2 separate regions of the Homo sapiens genome follow, and region 1 is linked to region 2. Evidence: promoter capture Hi-C in human tissues and cell types (Jung and others, 2019). All regions are on one chromosome and are shown on one strand. The core of a region is centred on a gene start or on the middle of the fragment in contact, and the rest is flanking DNA. Distances in the headings are between cores, read along the strand shown.

Region 1 (5,387 bases), core at 2,098-4,597, 180 kb before region 2:
AACTCAGTTATTAATAATGATTCAAAATGTGTTGTTCTGACTCTATAATTGCTTTTACATTTATTAGTTGGCAACTTTAGTATAAAAAATTCTTCATTCACTTACCTATCTATTATCTATCTGCTCTCTATCTGTTATCTATCATCTGTTATCTATCTGCTATCTGTCATCTATCTATCCATCAGTATAGACTCATGGATTTTTTTATTCAGTGGGTTGCTTCATTGTTGTCATTTTTTGGTGCTTAATTTTCCTATATCTAGGCCTTCTAAGCATGCTCCTCTGTCTTTTTAACATGTTCCCATAATATTTGAGCAGTTATTTCCTTCTGATATGACCAGATGTTTCAAGCTCCCTTTGTATACTCCCCACTTCAATCACAAAACAGCCATTTCCCCCAAAAGTTATAATCACTTTTAATAAAGAATTATATTTATAAGCCGATATTTATATTCATCTGGGTTTTATTGGATTTTTAATAATTTATATTTTATCATGATAATTTGTATTTTATCATGATTTTTATCATGAGGATAGCATGAATTTCTGGTATTCTACATTAAAAACAAGAGCATATAATTTGAGAAAGCATACAAATTATTATGGGGATAATACATTCTCAAGATTCTTCTGAAAATAATATAACTTAACTGACTTCCTTTATGGTGTTAGCATTGAAGAAAATGGTTTTGATATTTATTATTTTATTTTTGGTGAAAAATACATGTTTGTAATTCTACTACCTTATTAACCATCAGGTTTTATATTATTTTCCTGCTTTTATTCTTATTTAGAAATTTTAGAATCTTGAATATTTTAGATTTTGTGTGAACCCTTGTGTAAACAATGTGATACCTACTTTGTATGAGATTTTGACTTGAAGTTTTAAAAACCTAGAAAAACGTGAAACTCTAGTTAAAGGACTAAAGAGATGACATGTTGAAACATACAAACAAAAGTGATCATTTTAAATAATTGTGCAGTTATACTTTTCTACTGTTTATTTCATATATATCATTATTATAAAAATTATATGAAAAATGCTATTTGTTTAACTAGCTCTATCATATATCATGAACCATTTCCCATGTCAAAATATTTCTCTGAAACATAGTTTGAACAGCTATTATTCAATACAAATATTCTAATGGACTTAATGTATTATCTCATCATTAGATTGTGTGCTATATAATGCTTCAGTAATTAAATTATATATGTATATGTTTGTATTTGTTGTCTTTTTTCATGACATTTTTAATAGTAAATTCTGAGACTTAGAAGTGCTCAGTCAAGTCAATCAATTTATGTATTTATATATCTCTGTGTACTCATCTAAAAATCAAACAAGCAAAAATCCCAAATATATTAAGGTGTATCACTGTAAGATGCCTCCTAGTGGAAGAGGATGTCTAATTTATCAATCATGATGCTGTAATCTCAAATTAACCTTCTGCTACTCCCCAGGTTCCATGCGGTCCCATGTGAAAGAACCATCTTAACATTGCACTTCAGATTTCCCACCTAGACATCTTTCTACATATATTATTAAGCACAACAAATACAGATTTCTCATGTTTTATCTAATCTAGTGTTTCCTTCTCAATTTCAGTTTCTGCCTTGAGGGGAAGTCCTGCTTCATAGGTGAATGACATTGAGAATGAGTTAACACTTCATATATATTAAATAAAAGATAATATCTTTACTCACACAGAAATGACAAGTTAAAAAATAATTTAAAATAATCAATAACATAGCACTTAAAATGTTGTATAAATATAATTTCATTTTATCACACATGGCAAATGGCAAGGTTTCTATAAAGCAGACACACTCCCAGATAGTTATAAATCTCTTTCTATGATGGATATATTTTCAGTTTATACTTGTTACTGACTTTATTTTTTAGTGCATAAGAATGTAAGATGGATTCAGTAATAAAATTTTGAGAATTTTGACTATCCGTTTGGAGGATTTGAGGCATAGGTAAATGTAAATTCTCAGGCAGGCCTATATTTAAGTTGCAAAAGTCATATGAATCTTTCAAAAATACTAATGTCATTACTATGCTTATCCACTAGCCTCATTGTATAAGTGTGAAGGGGAATTGTAGTGGAATCATAGCCTCTTCTTGGAAGGATTTTCTTGCATGTTTACAACCAGTTACTATAAAAAGAAAGGAAGCAGCCTGCTTGAACTTGTCTAGGCCCCATTGAAAACCTACTTGATAGACGGCCTATAAAGAGAGTCTTTTCTATTCTAGCAAATTAGAGTAGAGGCACAAGGGTAGGCTCTTTAGGCACATATTAAAGGTATAGGCTTGGTCAATCATTACAGTTAAAAGAGTTATGTCCTCACTATGACGATATAGACAATTCTCAAGGTAAAATCAAAGATGAAGGGGCAAGGATATCAAATGTCATTTATTTGAATGGAGATATGCCTTCACCAGATAATGAATGGTAATATATCTTATACTTCTTCATCTCTTGTAATAAGTAGTATACTTGTAGATAAAAGTAGACACTCAGAAAATGCTTATTACTTAGGTGAATGACATTTTTAGTTAGTTATAGATTTAGTTATTTACGTATATGTATATTAAATATACTCTGTAACTATATGTATAAAATATATGGGATATATATAGTAAATGTATATAATATATATTTTTGTCTATTGGCCAGGACATGATTTATACTTTTTAAAAAAAGTATAATACTTAGATGAATGACATTTTTACTTATAGATTTAGTTATTCATGTATATGTATATTAAATATACTCTATAAACTATACATATATAACATATAGAATATATATGGTAAATATATATAATATATATTTTTGTCTATTGGCCAGGACATGATTTATACTTTTTAGAAAAAGTGTAAAAATAATTTATACTTTTTTAAAAAAGTGTAAAAATAATTTATACTTTTTTAAAAAAGTGTAAAAATAATTTATACTTTTTAAAAAAACATTACAGCTACAATTTGATTATTTGAAATGTCAAAATAATTAAAAACAGTATTTGCAAAGGATACATTCAAATTAGCATAATGGTAGGGACTATATTGCGTCTGTAGATAAAATGGCCCCACTTAAATGTACTGTATGTGTAGTGGATTGAATGGTGACCCCCAAAAGATATAGCCCTATCCTAATCCTCAGCACCTGTGAATATTGCCTTATTTTGAAAGAGGGTCTTTGCAGGTGTGATTAAGAATCTTAAGATAATCCTGAATTTTATGGATGAGCCCTAATTCCAATGACAACATTTCTTATGCAATAAAGGCAGAAGGAGATTTGAAACAAACTGCTGAAGGCACACAGAGGCAAGGTGATGCAACGACAGAGCAGACAGAGATGTGGCCAGACACTGAGGAATGCTGGAAGAGGGATGAAATATGTTCTCCTTTAGGTTTCCCAAAGGGAGCAAAATTTTACTAGATTCCAGATCTGTGAGAGAATGAATTTCTATTGTTTTATTCAACCACATTTGTGGTAATTTGTTACACAAGCTGTAAAAAACAAATATAGTATCATATACCTGCTTTGAATCAATGCTTGAGGACAATTTTAGAGTAATGGATTTTTGAAGCAAGTACTTCATATGGAGGTAAAATAACCTGAGAGGTAAGCTTGAAGATACATGTGTGAGCATTGTGAACTTTTGCAAACTAAGCCTAAGAGGGATCAGTCACATGGGCAGTGTTTCTTTGAGATCAATAACTCAATAAAACAGAAAGGCAAAATCACAAATTCTTAAATTTCTATAAATACATTGTATTTGAAGAGGGTTCTATATAAATATGCATTAAATTATTTTGTTACAATAAGATATATTCCTATAGTACGCCAAGTGGGGATAGTAACATCATATTGCAAAATCTTTATTAAACAGAGTTGGACATAATACTCATGTCTGAAACATATTTAATTTCTGAATATAAAGGATAACAATATTATTGAAGATAATTCAATCTATTGTTACCCAGTAGGAACATTCGTTTCTTGATATTTTAGTCTAGTTATTTTTTCTGGATTATAAATCTTTTTATTGTCATTACCCTTACCATTTGCTGTTGAAAAACAGACAAAATTAAAAAAAATAAAATTGCAGGCAGATTAACATCTTTAAGTGGCTAACACACTGGAATGGAGAACAAAATATCACAGTGATGATGCCTAAAATTTCACCTTTCCAATAGAATAAATAAAACAATAGCAGATCAGAAAATAAAAGGTTTTCTTGATCAGTATGAGCTATTTTCCACCCAGGCAGTCCTGCAACCCAGAATGTTTCTTCAGCTAGAGTGCTTTATTCTATTTCTCCAACTCTTAGTAGTAGTGATAGCCTGGGATAGTTCCCCCAAAGACATAATTCTATGACAGACTTACCTTTTAAACTCTTTCAGATAGAAAAAGATGTAATGTAACTGTGATAGATTTTTCGTTTCCATTGAGAAAGGTTTTCCTGGCCATGTATATCTTTATTTAGGCTGGGTAATGTATAGAGTCCTTGCATTAATTTGGCTATTTCAAAGCCTTATTCAGAGACCTGGATACAAAGCCCCTCCTTCTCTGAGCTCCTTCTCATTGAGACAATGGGGCTAGCTCTGACCTCCACCATCAAGGGACATTGGCAGGTGATGGTGCGAGAGATGCTGGGGGAGCCTTGGGACCCCTGTTCACAGCAGAGCAGGAAGACGTTCCCTGGGAGGAGGAGAGGGACATTGGTGTGTATTCCAACTACCTGCAATCTACACTTTGATTCAGGAGGGAAAGTCACCCAGGGATGTTGTTCTTCCAGCATAGCCATGGTGATTTCTGCAGTCATCCAGCTCTAGTTCAACTACCTATACAGGAAAACACCTCCCAGCAGAAATGAATGTCTTCTATATAAGGAGATGTTAGCACTAGACTTTTCCTCAGGATAATATTTTGACCTAGAATAAACCCTACAGAGATGAGACACATACCGCTAAAATGAATATAGACTCCTACTCCCTCTGGAAGCCTTCATAGGATTAAATCCCAGATACAGACAGATTCACTGGACTCACTGAAGTTTCTTTAGCTAACTCCAGGAGCATAGCTTTTATTTTAGAATCAGATGAATAAAAACATTCTTGAGTTTCTATTGAGAATTAAATTCCCAGGAGGATAATAATATATACTTATTTGTCTTCTCTCTAAGGAGTATAGGGAAGATCTCCGGATCTTCTCTCTGGAGGAGAACAAAGATTTTCTGATTGTCCTTACAGGAAAATTATCAGGACCAGGCAGGGCAGATGATGGCATCACACTATTTCTGCACAAGCTTTCACAGATCTCAAGGGTCATAAACATGAGGCAGACATCACAAATTACAATATCCAAACTCTT
Region 2 (5,955 bases), core at 2,551-5,050:
TTCACAATAAGGGAAAGTAGGAAACAAATGAGGCAGGAGGCATTAAGGACAGAAACAGGTCCAGACAGACTAGGGTCTCTTACTCGCAAGGGAAAGACTGTCAATACTTCAACTCTCTTATGTGATAAAGGATTAAGCAAAACATGTAGTTCCAGAAATACTCATCCCTTTCATAGTTCACAACCATTTTTTCTAAACTCTCCCTAATGTCCTCCTCAAGACCTTCCTTCTCCAACATTTCCTCCTTTACTGCTCTGTCCTGATGCTCCCACCAGCACCCCTCAGGGTGCTTTTCTAAAATCATAATGAGGCTGAGAATACGTTTGATTTCCTCAAAGAGACATTCAAATTCAAATTCTAAAACCTCAAAAACATTTCACTAAAAGAAAACCTGTCAACTATTGTTGACTAGATTCCAGATTTGCATCTGAATTAGACATTTTTCCATTAACTTGGCAAACACCTATAAAGTGTCATCGTTGTTAGATGATGGATTTTTAGGGTGAATATTACCCTTAATTTTCACGGAGAGCTGACCTATCATGAGGGAAAAGACACAGTGATCTTCACCGTATCATTTGCTCCTCTGCCGCACTGGAGACCCTGCAAGCCCATGACTCACTGTGCTCCTCTCAGCCACCCAACATGTCTCTCCACTAAGTCCTTGTCACATTACAAATGAGTGACAGTGTCTCATCTCAGAGAAAGTGTGAACTTCAGAGTCTAACAGCTCCTGTTTTAGATACACATGTGTTTGTTCTGCTTCCTGAGACTTGGAGCAAGATACTTAGCTTCTCTAAGCCTCATTTTCTTCATGTGTGAAATGTGCCTGATATTGGCCAGCTGAAGGGTCCTTGATGAAATTAAAGGAATTGAAGGACTAAAGCTACAGAAGTGCCGAAACAGGCAGGTGTCCATTGTTTACTGATGATCCTTAGTCTTGACTTCATGCTCTCTTTCAGAATATTCTTTCTTCATTTACTCTCCCTCTCTACTATCCTCAGGTTCCTCTTGTTCCTGAGTAACTCCTTCTCCCTCATTATAAAAGAAAATATACAGGCATCTCAATTTAGGAAGCTTTACTGTGTATATAGCATTCTAAATACCCCTTCATTTCACATCTCTAATGATTGGAATCCATTGTCTGGATTTATTTCCTAATATTTATTCCTGAGACTGTAAACATTTCTACCCTCACTAATCTTTAGAATTTGAAAACTTAAAGGTTACTGATAACCTGCCATCATCAGTTCCAGAGATATTTTTATTCTATTTGCATTCTTTACTTAGCTTTTAACAATGTTACCTATTTGTTCCTTCAAACTCTCAACTCTGTCATGGACTTCTGTCCTGATTTTCCTCCAATCGAATTTGCCTTGTCACCATTCTTAACCTTCCTCCTTCTCCTGCTCTGCTGTATGAGCATTTGCTAAAGTTCTGTGCTCAGAACTTGTACTCAACTTCTACAGTTTTTCTTGGAAGTCTTTTTATTTCTAGCTATAATAATTACTATCAACTCTATATGGCTCACTCTCAATTTTACATTTACCTTCTAGATTTCTCTTCAAAGCTCCAAGTGTATTCCAGAAAAGCTGAATGAATGTTTCCTAAATATCTCACCAATGCCTGTACTCCTCTATCCACGAATGAAATTCCCTCCTGAGTTCTTTTTTACTATCGGCAGAATTAGATTTCTCCTACTCTCTCAATGAATCATCTTTTATTTTTCCCTCTTCTTCTGTATGCCACAGAATACATTCTCTTCCTTTATTATATATCTCCCCCATCTCCTCCTTACTCTCAGCCACACTTACCTTTTCCCTCTTTATTCCCATCTGCTAGAGTTGCCAGACCTTACTTGTAAATTTCCCTAATGTAACTTCCATTCACTCCCAAAATCCTACACTCTAACCTCCAAGTTAATTATATAAAATACAAATTTTTATGTCCTTTTTAAGCACAAAAAGATCTATAATGTCTAAGTGTGTAAAGATTTAAGTTTATCCTGGGCAGAATACTTTTCATCCAATCCATAATCTGCTCTTCTTCTATGACTAACTTTATTTTATTAACTATAGCATTTATTATCATGCCTTGTGTTTTCCAGCAGTCTTTTATTAAAATAGGCTGCTAATACTTAAATATCTTTCACTGATATGTTAACCCATCAAGTATGCTGTGTTTTTCCATGGCTATTGTGGGTTTCAAAATAATTAATATTCAAAAAATATATCTTGTTTCGAATGTTTATGGACTGATGTTAGACAAAGAAAATGTAAATATCATCTGCATTTGGAAAGCCAGTTGAAGGAGGAAATATGTATGAGCCAGATGATTTTAATGCACCTTCAGTTAAAACCATCTCCATATTATTCTGGGCTCACCTTCCAGCTAAATATAACTGGCTTTCTATTCTTATATCAAGGTGAATGGACTAGGTGTCAGGTAACATGCTTCATATCCAACCACTTCTATAGGAAGCCAGAGCTTGATCTTTACTGCTCTAATCTGTGGAATCTATACTTTCCCTACACCGGTGACATTCATTGAGGTCAACTAACTAAGGAAAAAATGTGAGAATATTTCTTCAATTTGTCTGTACAAACACAACTACCAAAACCTCTTAATACAAGCATGCAGCCAAGTTACAAAACCAGTATTGGACAATGAACACAGCTAATAGTCCTATTTAGCTCTTTGTGGTGTACAAGTGTGACTTTTGTGCTCTTCACAGTACTTGTCCAACACCAACAACATTACCTTTTTGCCAGGCATCTAATGTTGCTTTAGTAAGCAATAAAATTCTATTTTACATTCTTAGAGTTATATCATCTTCATACTCAACAAACATCAAATCAATTTTTTCTATATGTGTTCTGAGCTTTCTTTTGACCATTGAAAATAACCAATTCACGCTGCCTGCTCAGAACACAGTACTGAAAAATGGCATACCCTGTGGTTCACCTCCATAAACAGGATCACAATGAAAAAAGGAATTACTGCTTCCTGTGTTTTATGAATTGGGGTGAATGTAGGATAATCACTGTGACCATAAGAAATAGAAAACAATGTGTGATATAGTAAGACAGGTGCTATTGAAATATTCTGTGAATGATTATCTTTTTTAAAGCCCTGTCTCTAATTCCTGAAATGTATTACATTTATGTTGCACATTGTCCTTTTTTGTGAAATGTTTAAAAATGCAATAATGCTAAATGAAACTTTTATAATATAAAGTACCTAAACATTATCAACTGGTATAACAGCTTACACTGATCCTTTACATCACATAATAGTAAAAGCTGGAGTTTTAGATGTAAATAACCTGAAAATTACAGGAAAAAAATCAGAGAAGAGGTATGAATAGCAAAGCTCAAAATTTTCTAGATAAATATTACCTTTATTGGAATGGCTAAGTTAAGCTAATTAATATATGCATCACATCACATACATATTATTTTTGTAACAAGATTTCTTAAAATCTATGCCATAAATATATACAATTTTTATTTGTCAAACAAATAAATAAAACAAAATTACTTTTGTTGGACCCAGGTAAAATATCCTCCATGTGTCTTCTCTGTTTATCCAGTAATTATTAGTTACAGCAAATATCAGGACTGAAATATTCTTCTATCAACGACAAAGAAAGAACAAAAAAATAAGTGTTTAGATTCCTCACACAGTTCATTTTACATAACAAAAAAACTCTAATTTAACAGTTAAATTTCAATCAGTCAAGATCTCTCTTTAGTAAAGCAAATCAATTCATTGATTCCATGGAATCTATTTTCTTTATTATAAAAATTAAATCTAAATTGCAACAAATTAAATGTTCTTTTTCAACCTATCCTATCTCGGTAAATTCACCCATTACTCTTTTTCTTATTGTTTCAATCGACTACCATCTTATAATATCTTTGACTGAAAATATATGTCACCTGAAGAAGATGAAGAGTGAAAAATTCACAGAACCATGTTAGCAGATGTTCAAACCTGGACTAGCCTTTATCTGGATGGGGTAGATAAAATTGGGCTATATAGACGTTCCTGCCTTCCTTTCTCTGAATTTATATTCTAACCCCTTATCTATGAGCCAAAAAGCTCCATGCAAGTCTCTGTAGCTCTCTATATTCAGGCCTGCCTTCCAGCAGATGTGGCCCCTGTTCTAAAATTGCCTTTTCCTCTCCCCTTCTTAAAAAGAACACAGGGAAAGGCAAGATCTTAAGTGAAGTTAAATATCTTACTCATAGTAAATTCTTAGGCAGTGATATATGTTAATATTTGTTGTAAACATCTGGTATTTTGAAATTATGCAATCATTCCGCCAACTAGTCTGTTAGAATTTTATTTAACCCTGAAGAGTTGATCTCCGAGATGGGGGTGCCATCCATGCTCAGCTCCCTACAGCTCTGCAGAATGCTGAGAAGAAAGGGTACAGCCCCAAGCAACAATGACTTCTCCCCTAAAGTTCCTTTTCAGCCTTTTGCCACATCCTCCCCCTATTGCTGCTTTAATGAAATGAGAAGACGTTGGAGGAACCATGAGCCACTGTTCATCAAGTAAAAGATGAGAAGCCAGACCCATAGTTAAAGATCAATCAGGCATTGACAGAACTTATCACTGTGTTGGTGCCACGCAGACAGGATCATAATTTGTGGGGCTCTGGAAATGTCTTCACGTGCTGCTGTTCACATTTTTGTTTTATTATTTTTAATTGCATTTAAATTCCATTGCTACTCTGTGGACCAAGACTGAAATATATTCAATTTATTCTTGCAAGGAATCAAATGTCCAGGGCTTGACACCTAGGTATATTTTCCATTCGCAACATTGAGTTCCATGATTTGCTATCCTACCCCAGTCAGTGTATTATACATTTTAAAGTATCTAACATAATTTTCTACCTCTATTGACTGGCTGGCTTAAGACATTAACTTCTCCCTTTTCCTCCATATTAGGAAGAGGGAAGTGTTGACTTGGAAAGACTCAGGAGGTATGCACGCCAGAAAAGCATTCCTCAATGTCTCACATTCCAAAAATATATTTCTGAATATAATCCTTTCCAATATTTACATCAATTCAAAGAGTGCATGGTTAAATAAAACCTTGTAAGAGCCTTGTAAATTTATTCTGAGACATACTGAGGCTTCGGGGCATATTACCAATATTCTCTTATTCATTATAGTGATAATTCCCTAAAGCTAAGGACTAAAAAGCCAAAAACTTTCTCTCCAGAAAATGAGTACACCATGATTCTAATACTCCACTGAGTTTTAATCCTATTTGCCCTTCTTATTGGAGTCCTCTACAATCTTAGCTGAGGCAAATAGAGCTCTGAATACTCTGTATTCAACAGAGCACATGAAGGTTAAGTCCCACAAAAAAACATACGTTTTTCTTTCATGCTGCTCTAAATAAACCAGACACCTTCCTTTACAGACTTGGGCTGTCATTAGAAATGTTCATTTCATTTAGAGGAAGGTGCATCTGACCTGCGGTTGAGCACTTGGTTGTATACGCTGAATGCATCCATCATGGGCAGAAGTATTTCCATCATCCTAACATTTGGACACCCAGAACCCAAGTGCCACTGGGTGGGTGAGATCTCAAAGATGGTTTTAGATATCCTGAGAAGACAATTAGTCTTTCTTCTTTGAGACCTTGTTGTCTATTTCCTGTCTTGATTTGGTTGACTTTTCATATAATCTGAGTCCAATTATTAGACCCAGTGTCTCAAATATGGTGCAATCCTAAAATTCGCCTTTGCCGATATGTTTTATCATGGTTTCATTCTGTAAATGCTCATCTTCTTTATATCTCCTCTCTTCTATATCTAAGTCTAGGGTATTCTTTTGCACATAATTTCCTTAGTCTGGATAGTCTCAACAGTGACTATCAATAGTCTCAACTCTACAACACACTCTAGATTAACGAAGCCTGAGTCAGGGGCAT

Evidence for each region. The method cuts DNA at HindIII sites, captures the fragments that hold promoters and counts their contacts. A contact is called where the count stands out against the background at its distance.
Region 1: a contact is called between a fragment that was not itself captured here and the fragment with the promoter of OR2F1 in region 2, in 2 of the 25 tissues and cell types used here (liver and spleen).

Annotation. Positions count from the first base shown.
Region 1 is chr7:144,135,657-144,141,043 of GRCh38, reverse strand. No RefSeq gene overlaps it. Among named protein-coding and RNA genes, the nearest start is that of OR2A14, 15 kb to the right of the region's middle. The HindIII fragment of the contact is 6,882 bases long and covers 1-5,387 here.
Region 2 is chr7:143,952,689-143,958,643 of GRCh38, reverse strand. It overlaps OR2F1 (olfactory receptor family 2 subfamily F member 1), which reads right to left and starts at 3,800. Exons shown (of 3, transcript NM_012369.3): 1 at 3,541-3,800. The HindIII fragment of the contact is 7,987 bases long and covers 1-5,490 here.